Linked DNA regions of Homo sapiens: region 2 is linked to region 1. Evidence: promoter capture Hi-C in human tissues and cell types (Jung and others, 2019). All regions are on one chromosome and are shown on one strand. Each heading gives the region's core, a stretch centred on a gene start or on the middle of the fragment in contact. The rest is flanking DNA. Distances are from core to core; before and after follow the strand shown.

Region 1 (4,286 bases), core at 925-3,424:
TTTTAAGCTTCTGAGCCAGCAGGCTGTTCCTACATCCACTCCAGGCATAGAAAGATGGCTGTAAAATAAAAGAGATGATTATCTCCTCCCTTCCCTTCTCAATATTTCACCCTAATGTCGGGTTCATTTCTGTGAGGTTCTACCCGAGTTCACTTTTCTATCAACCTGACATGTTTCCAAATTCACGAGGTATGCGTTTTTATATTGAAGCAATTGTTTGTTTACAGCCTTTTAATGTTCTGGTCATGGGTTATGTTAACCTATTACCCATATCTGATCAATAGACACCTCACCCTCTCCCCTCCCAGACCACACACCTCCACGCTTAAAAAGGGACAGGGAGGGCCAGGCACGGTGGCTCACGCCTGTAATCCCAGCACTTTGGGAGGCCGAGGCGGGCAGATCACGAGGTCAGGAGATCGAGACCATCTGGCTAACACGGTGAAACCCCGTCTCTACTAAAAATACAAAAAATTATCCGGGTGTGGTGGCGGGCACCTATAGTCCCAGCTACTCGGGAGGCTGAGGCAGGAGAATGGCGTGAACCCGGGAGGCAGAGCTTGCAGTGAGCCGAGATCGCGCCACTGCACTCCAGCCTGGGCAACAGAGCGAGACTCCGTCTCAAAAAAAAAAAAAAAAAAAAAAGGGGGGGGGGACAGGGAGAAGAACTAAAGCTCAGGCTACTATGATAATTAGGGATGAAAAAGCTACATTCACTTAGGATTATCAAAAGCCAGGAAAGATATCTATAGAATTACAAATTAATCGGGCCTGGCGCAGTGGCTCACGCCTGTAATCCCAGCACTTTGGGAGGCCCGAGACGGGCGGATCACCTGTGGTCAGGAGTTCGAGACCAGCCTGGCCAACATGGCGAAAAACCCCGTCTCTATTAAAAATACACAAATTAGCCGGGCGTGGTGGCGGGCGCCTGTAATCCCAGCTACTCGGTAGGCTGAGGCAGGAGAATCACTTGAATCCGGGAGGCGGAGCTTGCAGTGAGCCGAGATCATGTCATTGCACTCCAGCCCGGGCAAGAGCGAAACTCCCGTCTTAAAAAAAAAATAGAAAAGAAAAGAAAAGAAGAATTACAAATTAATCACCAAGAACAGAAATAGTGTAAAAACAAAGATGTAATTCAACTGTTTAGAGTGCAGAGATAATTGGAACTAAAAGAGCAAGAAAAGCGGGAAACATATGTACCTATAAACCTAATCACAAACCTGTCACAAAAACTACGAGTAAACGAGTCGAAGTTGAAAATGAGTTTTTGTGAATCAGAGTCTGATTTGACTTGAATTTACTAAGAAAGAATAAGAAAGGTGTAGAACATTCCAGGACATCTCTATCCCACCGCAAAACAAAAAAGAGCCATCAACCCACCACAAACGTGCAGCGTGAGACTGGAAGATACACTAGTCACCCAGTCACTGAAAACAACCTTTGAAACATCTTTATTTTTCTTTCCAAATAAAAAAGAGCCTAGGTCAGTAAACTAAGTATGAGAATAATTTTCAAAATTCCAGTCCTAACCACACCGGATGATTCTGGCTAACGTATGCCTCAGTTTCCCCCGTGCTAAAATGCAAACACACCGGTGTTCCGAGTCTCGGGCCTGGATCCGAGCCCGGGTTCTGCACCTGGATCTGAATCTTAAAGGGAAAACCGCAAGTTAAACCTGAGGAGGAGTCTGCAGCTGTCCCGGTGCCAGAGCCAGCCAGGCTCTTTTTAGAAAGCCCCCCGCCTCAGGCGCGGTTTTCGTAAAACCGCTCCCGGCTGCCAGCGCGGTGGATTCCGGCTGGCGCCCCGAACACCTGAGGTGGCCTCGGCCGTCTAGGGGCGGCCGCACCGGAGGACGCAGCCGACCTCCCCGCCCCGCCGCGTCCCCGGCCCCCATTCCAACGGCGACGCGAGCAAGGTCGGCCCGGCGGCTCTCCGGCCCGAGGCGGTGCTTCTCTCGTGGGCGCCTTCGGCCCATACGACCCTCGGTCGGACAGTCCGACCACAGCCGCCCCGCAGCCCCCGCCTGAGGGGAACTTGTAGGCGCCGGTGGGTCTCCGCTGACTCCCGCCCCGCACTCACCTGCCCCACGGGCCACCTCAGCGCCAATCCGGGTCGGGTTAGCAGCTTCCCCACTCGCACCCAGTCAGCGCTCAGCGGCGCCTAAGCGCACGCGTGGCGGGGCGTGGCATGGGCGGCCGCGGGTCATGCTGGGGGCTGTAGTCGTTCCCGCCCACTAGGCGGGGCGCGTCCAGGGGCTTTGCGCCCCCATCCCAAGGCCAGCATGCATAGCGATGATTTCTTCGTCTGCACCGCAGCCTGAGAAGCTTGGGACAGTATGGTGTGGACCAGCAGTCAGGGTGGTGGGAGATAGACGCTGCAAATAACTTGCTAATTTTTTTTTTTTTTTTTTTTTGAGATGGAGTCTCGCTCTGTCACCCAGGCTGAAGTGCAGTGGCGTGATCTCGGCTCACTGCAACCTCCACCTCCCAGGTTCAATCAGTTCTCTGCCTCAGCCTCCCGAGTAGCTGGGATTACAGGCGCCCGCCACCACGCCCAGCTAATTTTTTTGTATTTTTAGTACAGTATTTTTAGTAGAGACGGGGTTTCACCATGTTGGCCAGGCTGGTCTCGAACTCCTGACCTCAGATGATCTGCCCGCTTCAGCCTCCCAAAGTGCTGGGATTACAGGCGTGAGCCACCGCGCCAGGCCGGAAAACGAAATTTTCTGAGTACCTTCTGTGTCAGATTCTATGCTGTGCAATTCCCATCTCACCAACCCTCACATCCACCTAGGCTTCATATCACCTTTCTAGGGACTCCTAACCCTCGTGCTTCCACTAAAGCTGTGTTTACAAACATCAGGCTCTCCTGGTTCTTAAATGAAACTGAGCATCAGCCAGGGAAAGAGGGCATTAAGTGTCCAGGTGTCTGACTTCAGCTGAGCAGACATTTCATCAGTTGCCCCAAGTTCTGCCCAGAACCTGACATCTGGGTAGTTCTGATGCTGGAGTCCGTGTGAATTTAAACCAATCTTAAAGAAAATACAACAGCCTGGGTTAACAGAGTGAGACCCTGTCTCTACAAAAAACAACAAAAAATGAACCACGTGTGGTTGTGTGTGCCATAGTCCCAGCTACTCAAGAGGCTGAGGTGAGAGGATCGCTTGAGCCCAGGAAATCAAGGCTGCAGTGAACTGTGGTCATGCCACTGCACTCCAGCTTGGGCGACAGAGCAAGATCTTGTCTATATATATATATAAAAGATAGATATATGAATGTATATTATATATAATATATATGAATGTATATTATATATAATATATATGAATGTATATTTTATATATATACATAAATGTACATTTAATATATATATGTTTTCCAGTGAACACGCAGACCACCCATCAAATTAAAATGTTACATGGGAAAATCAGATTACAAAGTTGCATACAAGTATGTAAATACAAAAATAAAGGAGAATGGAAAAGGAAAGAAGACAAGAGATGCACCAACAAATCCACCCATTCAAATAGTCCAGGAAGAAACCAGGTCAAATCGCCAATCACTGGAGATCATTAGTCTAACAGAATTGTTAGGACAGGAACAAGACTGTTATTTCCTTATTTTCTATGAGGAAATGTATTAACTAAAATCCATGGTATCCTATATCCCCAGTATCTGTTATGTAATATAAATTCTCACATTACAGATAAACTGATAGTAGTTGCTGCCTCCAAGTTGCCCATAGCAGAGAAGGAAGTAGACAGAATATCTGGTCAGAGTCCCATGACTTAATTTCCTTGTGTCAGACTTAGTATCCTTTCAAGATTTTTTCTGTTTTGTTTTTTCAGATGGAGTCTCGCTCCGTTGCCCAGGCTGGAGTACAGTGGCATGATCTTGGCTCACTGCAACTTCTGCCTCCCAGGTTCAAGCAATTCTCCTGTCTCAGCCTCCCAAGTAGCTGGGACTATAGGCGCCTGCCACCACGCCCGGTTGATTGTATTTTTAGTAGAGACGGAGTTTCACCTTGTCGGTCAAGCTGGTCTCGAACTCCTGACCTCAGGTGATCCACCTGCCTCGGCCTCCCAAAGTGTTGGGATTACAGGCGTGAGCCACCACCGCACCCGGCCCTTTTCAAGATTTTTTAGAGATGAACAGAGTAACTCTTTCTGGAAGTTGAGCAAATGGCTCTATGCTATCCCTGCTTGCTTGCTATACTAGCCTATGTTCAGAATTTGGTTTTCAGAATTGTCTTCTATTGTTTTTCCAAAAGGATAAGCTCTTCTCTTA
Region 2 (4,286 bases), core at 680-3,179, 160 kb before region 1:
ATTTTTCTCTCATTGCAAATTCTAGTTATTCTGACAGCTTTGAATTAGATGGTTACTGGTTTTAAGATTATTCAGTTGCGGAGACCTGTTTGAGAAAAAAAACTCTTTGTCTTCTTTAATCAAGTGTTGTATTGTCTGTGGCACTGTTTTAAATGAAAGACAATTAAATTGCTTTGCTGTTTTATACATTGTTGTCTTTAATCACTAGTCTAGACTCTATGTTTTTATGAAAGCATCTTTAAATTTTTTTTCTTAGCTGTTCTTTCTTGTTTGTGGTATAACCTTTCTGTACCATCTTTTGGTTCTGTGGAAATGCCCTTAATAACACATAGGATTAGGACTAAATTTTGGAGATGGGTAAGTTTGAGCAAAGAGTCAGTCAACACAGGGGAGGATTTTTGAAATTTTATCTCTAAAAACAGTTTTCCAATTCAGAGTTTTTAAAACCCTTTTAAAAATATAGTTAGTTTTCAGTGGTTTCTTTTACTTTTAGTGTTTTTACACTTGGAAGTCAGATATCTAAAAATAGGGAATGTTCTTTTGCTATTTTTAGATCTCTACTAAAATGTAATCTGTAGTGTTTTCTTGTTTCAGAGCATATCTTAAAAGATTCAGACAAGTGGCATTTGGGGACCTCTTCCCCATCCACTGGCTTTCACTCAAAGGAAAATAAGACTTCTTGGTTCTGGCAGATACTGTCTCTGGCAGAATTGGTCTCACTGTTTTCCTTGGGGAGCATTTTAGGTAGTATGTTGAAAGACAGATATACATCAGTTGAAGACAGGATCAGATGCTATCTGGTTAATAAAGCTTATGATCAGGGAAGGGGCAAAGAAGACAGATACCACTACCATTTTGTTCTTTCTGGTTTTACTAATATGACCATAATGAGTCATTTTTTATGCATATAGGCTATGTGTTTCAGGTTGCCTTTCCTTTTCCTCCTACAGATCTATTGAGCTTTGTGTTCTAAACAAGATAGTGTGCTTATCTGAATGTTTCCCATCTGTCTTTGATGAAAAAGCTCCCAGTTAAACTAATTTGGATTTATTTATTTTTCCTGTCTATTCCAGTTCTCTGCTATGTGTGGGCAAGTGCCTGTTTTATCTTGAGGGGTAGATTTTAGCATTTGAACTCTCTCCCTTTTTAAAATCACCTTGTTACTTACAGATCATCTCAGTCCAGTAACTTTTCTTTATAAAGGTTAAAAGATTGTTTGCTTTCTTCTCAGGTAGTCTCAGTGTTCTCAGCCTTGAGAGGGAAAGGGACATACTTAATATTTTCTTGTCTTGCTTGCTAAGAGCTGTTTTTCCTTCGTCATGTGTTGGGCAGGGCTAGCCACCCATCTGTTGGACCAGCTACTTCATAAAACTTTCAAAGGATGATAGTAGGTGAAATGAAATTGACAAGAGTGTTGGATGCAGGTAGAATGAAGGGTCTGCTGTAGCGTGTATGTGGACTTCTTTCTTTTGTTTATGTTCGTAAAAGTGGAGAGACTCTGGATATAGAAAGGGTAATAGCAAACTGATATCTCCAGTACCTGTCTCCTATATGATCAAAAACATTAACAATGTGTTGGTTTTGTAAAATTGCTACTGTTTTGTTCTGAAGTGCTGTAGCCATTAGCTGGATTGTAACAGTAATATGACAGCTGTATAGTAAAATACTGTCTCTCTTTATGATAGGAAATGAAAAAGCATCTGTTATGAAGCCTCAGTGAACTAAAAGCCATTCTCTGAAAAGTCAAGACTTTTGGGCTTTATCAGTAGATAAACATGAGCCATAGGTTTTCTAGCAATAGAATATTTTAACCTATATGAATATATGCTTTATAGGTGAGACTGCTATTTAATGAGAGTTTTAAAGTAACTAAACCTTGTTGACAGAATTCAGGATGGAAAGTTTTACCCTAAATAAAACTTCAGGATATTGAATATGATAGCAAAGTTCCAGGGTATGTTTTATATTTATGAACAATTTTCATTTGAATATTTGGAGCTTGGGGGTTTTGGTGAGACATGTTCATGTATGTTATATACAAACTTTCAGGCCTGGCATGGTGGCTCACACCTGTAATCCCAACACTTCAGGAGGCTGAGGCAGGAGGATCGCTTAAGCCCAAGAGTTCAAGACCCATCTCTACAAAAAATTAAAAAAAAAAAAAAAAAAAAAAAGCCAGGTATGATGGTGCCCACCTGTAGTCAGAGCTACTTGGGAAGCTGAGGTGGGAGGATCGATTGAGCCCAGGAGGTCGAGGCTGCAACAAGCTATGATCATGCCATTCTACTCCAACTGGGGCGACAGAGCAAGATTCTGTCTCAAAAAATAAAACTTTCATCCTCCTCACTGCTGGTGGTCTCTTACTGGTCCTTTGGAACCAGCCAGATGTATATGTCTTCCTAATTAGATTATTAGCTTCTCAAGGGCAATATATTAATCTATATATTGGCTTCTGATACTGGCACATGGTACTTAGTATTTTTGAATGAATGAGAGTGATGAAATTTGGATTGTCATACTTTCCCTGATAAGTATAAGCTTTTAAATCAAGATTTTATCGAAGTATTTTGAGATCTGTTCTTATATTAAGAAATGAATCTTCTACCCACCATCCTGTATTTTAGCCAATCCTTGTCCAAAGCAGATGTTGTTGAAAAATAGCTTTCAAAGTTGGAATTCTTCTGCATCTCAGAATGTGCAGTATGTCATGTCTGCCTGTGATGTTTATTGCTGAATCTAAGTGTTCTAATCAAACCACAGTTAGAGCTTTTCTCACTACTATGGAAACATATCTGAATCATTTTGTTTAGATAATTAATGATCTAAGATGGACATTATGGGGCCGGGCGCGGTGGCGCACGCCTGTAATCCCAGCACTTTAGGAAGCCGAGGCAGGTGGATCATTTGAGGTCAGGAGTTCAAGACAAGCCTGGCCAACATGGTGAAACCCCATCTCTACTAAAAATACAGAAATTAGCCAGGTGTGGTGGTGCATGTCTGTAGTCCCAGCTACTTGGGGGGCTGAGGCAGGAGAATTGCTTGAACCTGGGAGGCAGAGGCTGCAGTGAGCTGAGATTGTGCCACTGCACTCCAGCCTGGGCGACAGAGCGAGACCCTGCCTCAAAACAAAAACAAAAACAACAAAACAAATAAGATGGACATTATGGAATTTCAGAAGCTAAGTCTTAGGGAATATTGGGGCATGGTACTGACTCTGGTGTGTTTTAGAATGGAGAAATGCTAGGACTTGGCTCTTGACAGCTAATGTGTAAGGCTTTGACTAGACAGGCCCTAAGGTGTATCCATCTAGTGCAGTCCTCTTAGTTATAACAACAGCAGGACAGAATTCACTTGTAGAGAAAACAGTTGAGACAGTTCCTTAGGTATGCTTTGGTCCCACGACATAAATCTGATCTTAATGAGGCATAGTTAGGGAGTCACTTTGTTTTTTCTCTCTCTGTCTTGTGCATGTATGTATGCACACCCACACATTTGTCCATGCACAGGATGTCTCTGGAAGGACCACAGAAGCTGGTAACCCTGGCTGCCTCAATAAAGGGGAATAGAGAACTGGGGGACTGGGGTGGAAGAGACTTTTTGTTGTTATGATTATTAGAGTACTCCATAAATGCCAAAGAATATATAAAGTATTATAAGATTTGATTAATGCACACCTACTAACCAGCCTAAGAAATACAGCACAACCTATACACTCAAGTTTTCTAAGTGTTCTGTTTGATTTATCCTTCAGAAAATGCTTTTAAACTGTGTACTTTAAAATCTTTTTGGTTTTATACCACATACATGTTATCTATTTGAAAATATTTGTTTTATTATTAAAAATATTTCTTCAGCACTTTGGGAAGCTGAAGTGGGCAAATCACTTGAGGTCAGGAGTTCGAGACCAGCCTTGCCAACATGGTGAAACCCCATCTCTACTAAAAATACAAAAGTTAGCCGGGCATGGTGGTGGGTGCCTGTAATTCCAGCTACTTGGGAAGCTGAGGCAGGGGAATCTCTTGAACCCAGGAGGTGGAGGTTGCGGTGAGCCGAGATCGCACCACTGCACTCCAGCCAGGGCGACACAGCAAGATTCCATCTCAAAAAAATAAAAATAAAATATTTCTTCAGTCCATTTAGTCTCTCTTTTCCTTGATACCTGTGTACTTAAAATTCCTGCATTTTTTTAACTTCTATTTCCCTAATCATTACAGTTTGTTTCTGCACTGTATGTTTTAGAATAGTATGGGTCAAGAGGGGAGTGGCAATTAATAAAAATGAGGTTA

The links. The method cuts DNA at HindIII sites, captures the fragments that hold promoters and counts their contacts. A contact is called where the count stands out against the background at its distance.
Region 2: a fragment that was not itself captured here is called in contact with the fragment with the promoter of SGSM3 in region 1 in 1 of the 25 tissues and cell types used here (dorsolateral prefrontal cortex).

The regions. Positions count from the first base shown.
Region 1 is chr22:40,368,482-40,372,767 of GRCh38, reverse strand. SGSM3 (small G protein signaling modulator 3) reads right to left here and starts at 2,174. Exons shown (of 22, transcript NM_015705.6): 1 at 2,080-2,174. It overlaps ADSL (adenylosuccinate lyase), which reads right to left. Exons shown (of 13, transcript NM_000026.4): 13 at 3,401-4,286. RefSeq lists silencers at 1,789-1,958, 2,019-2,128 and an enhancer at 2,279-2,488. The HindIII fragment of the contact is 4,461 bases long and covers 1-3,681 here.
Region 2 is chr22:40,529,151-40,533,436 of GRCh38, reverse strand. All of the region lies in intron 3 of MRTFA (myocardin related transcription factor A), which reads left to right. Among named protein-coding and RNA genes, the nearest start is that of MRTFA-AS1, 9.5 kb to the right of the region's middle. The HindIII fragment of the contact is 3,323 bases long and covers 268-3,590 here.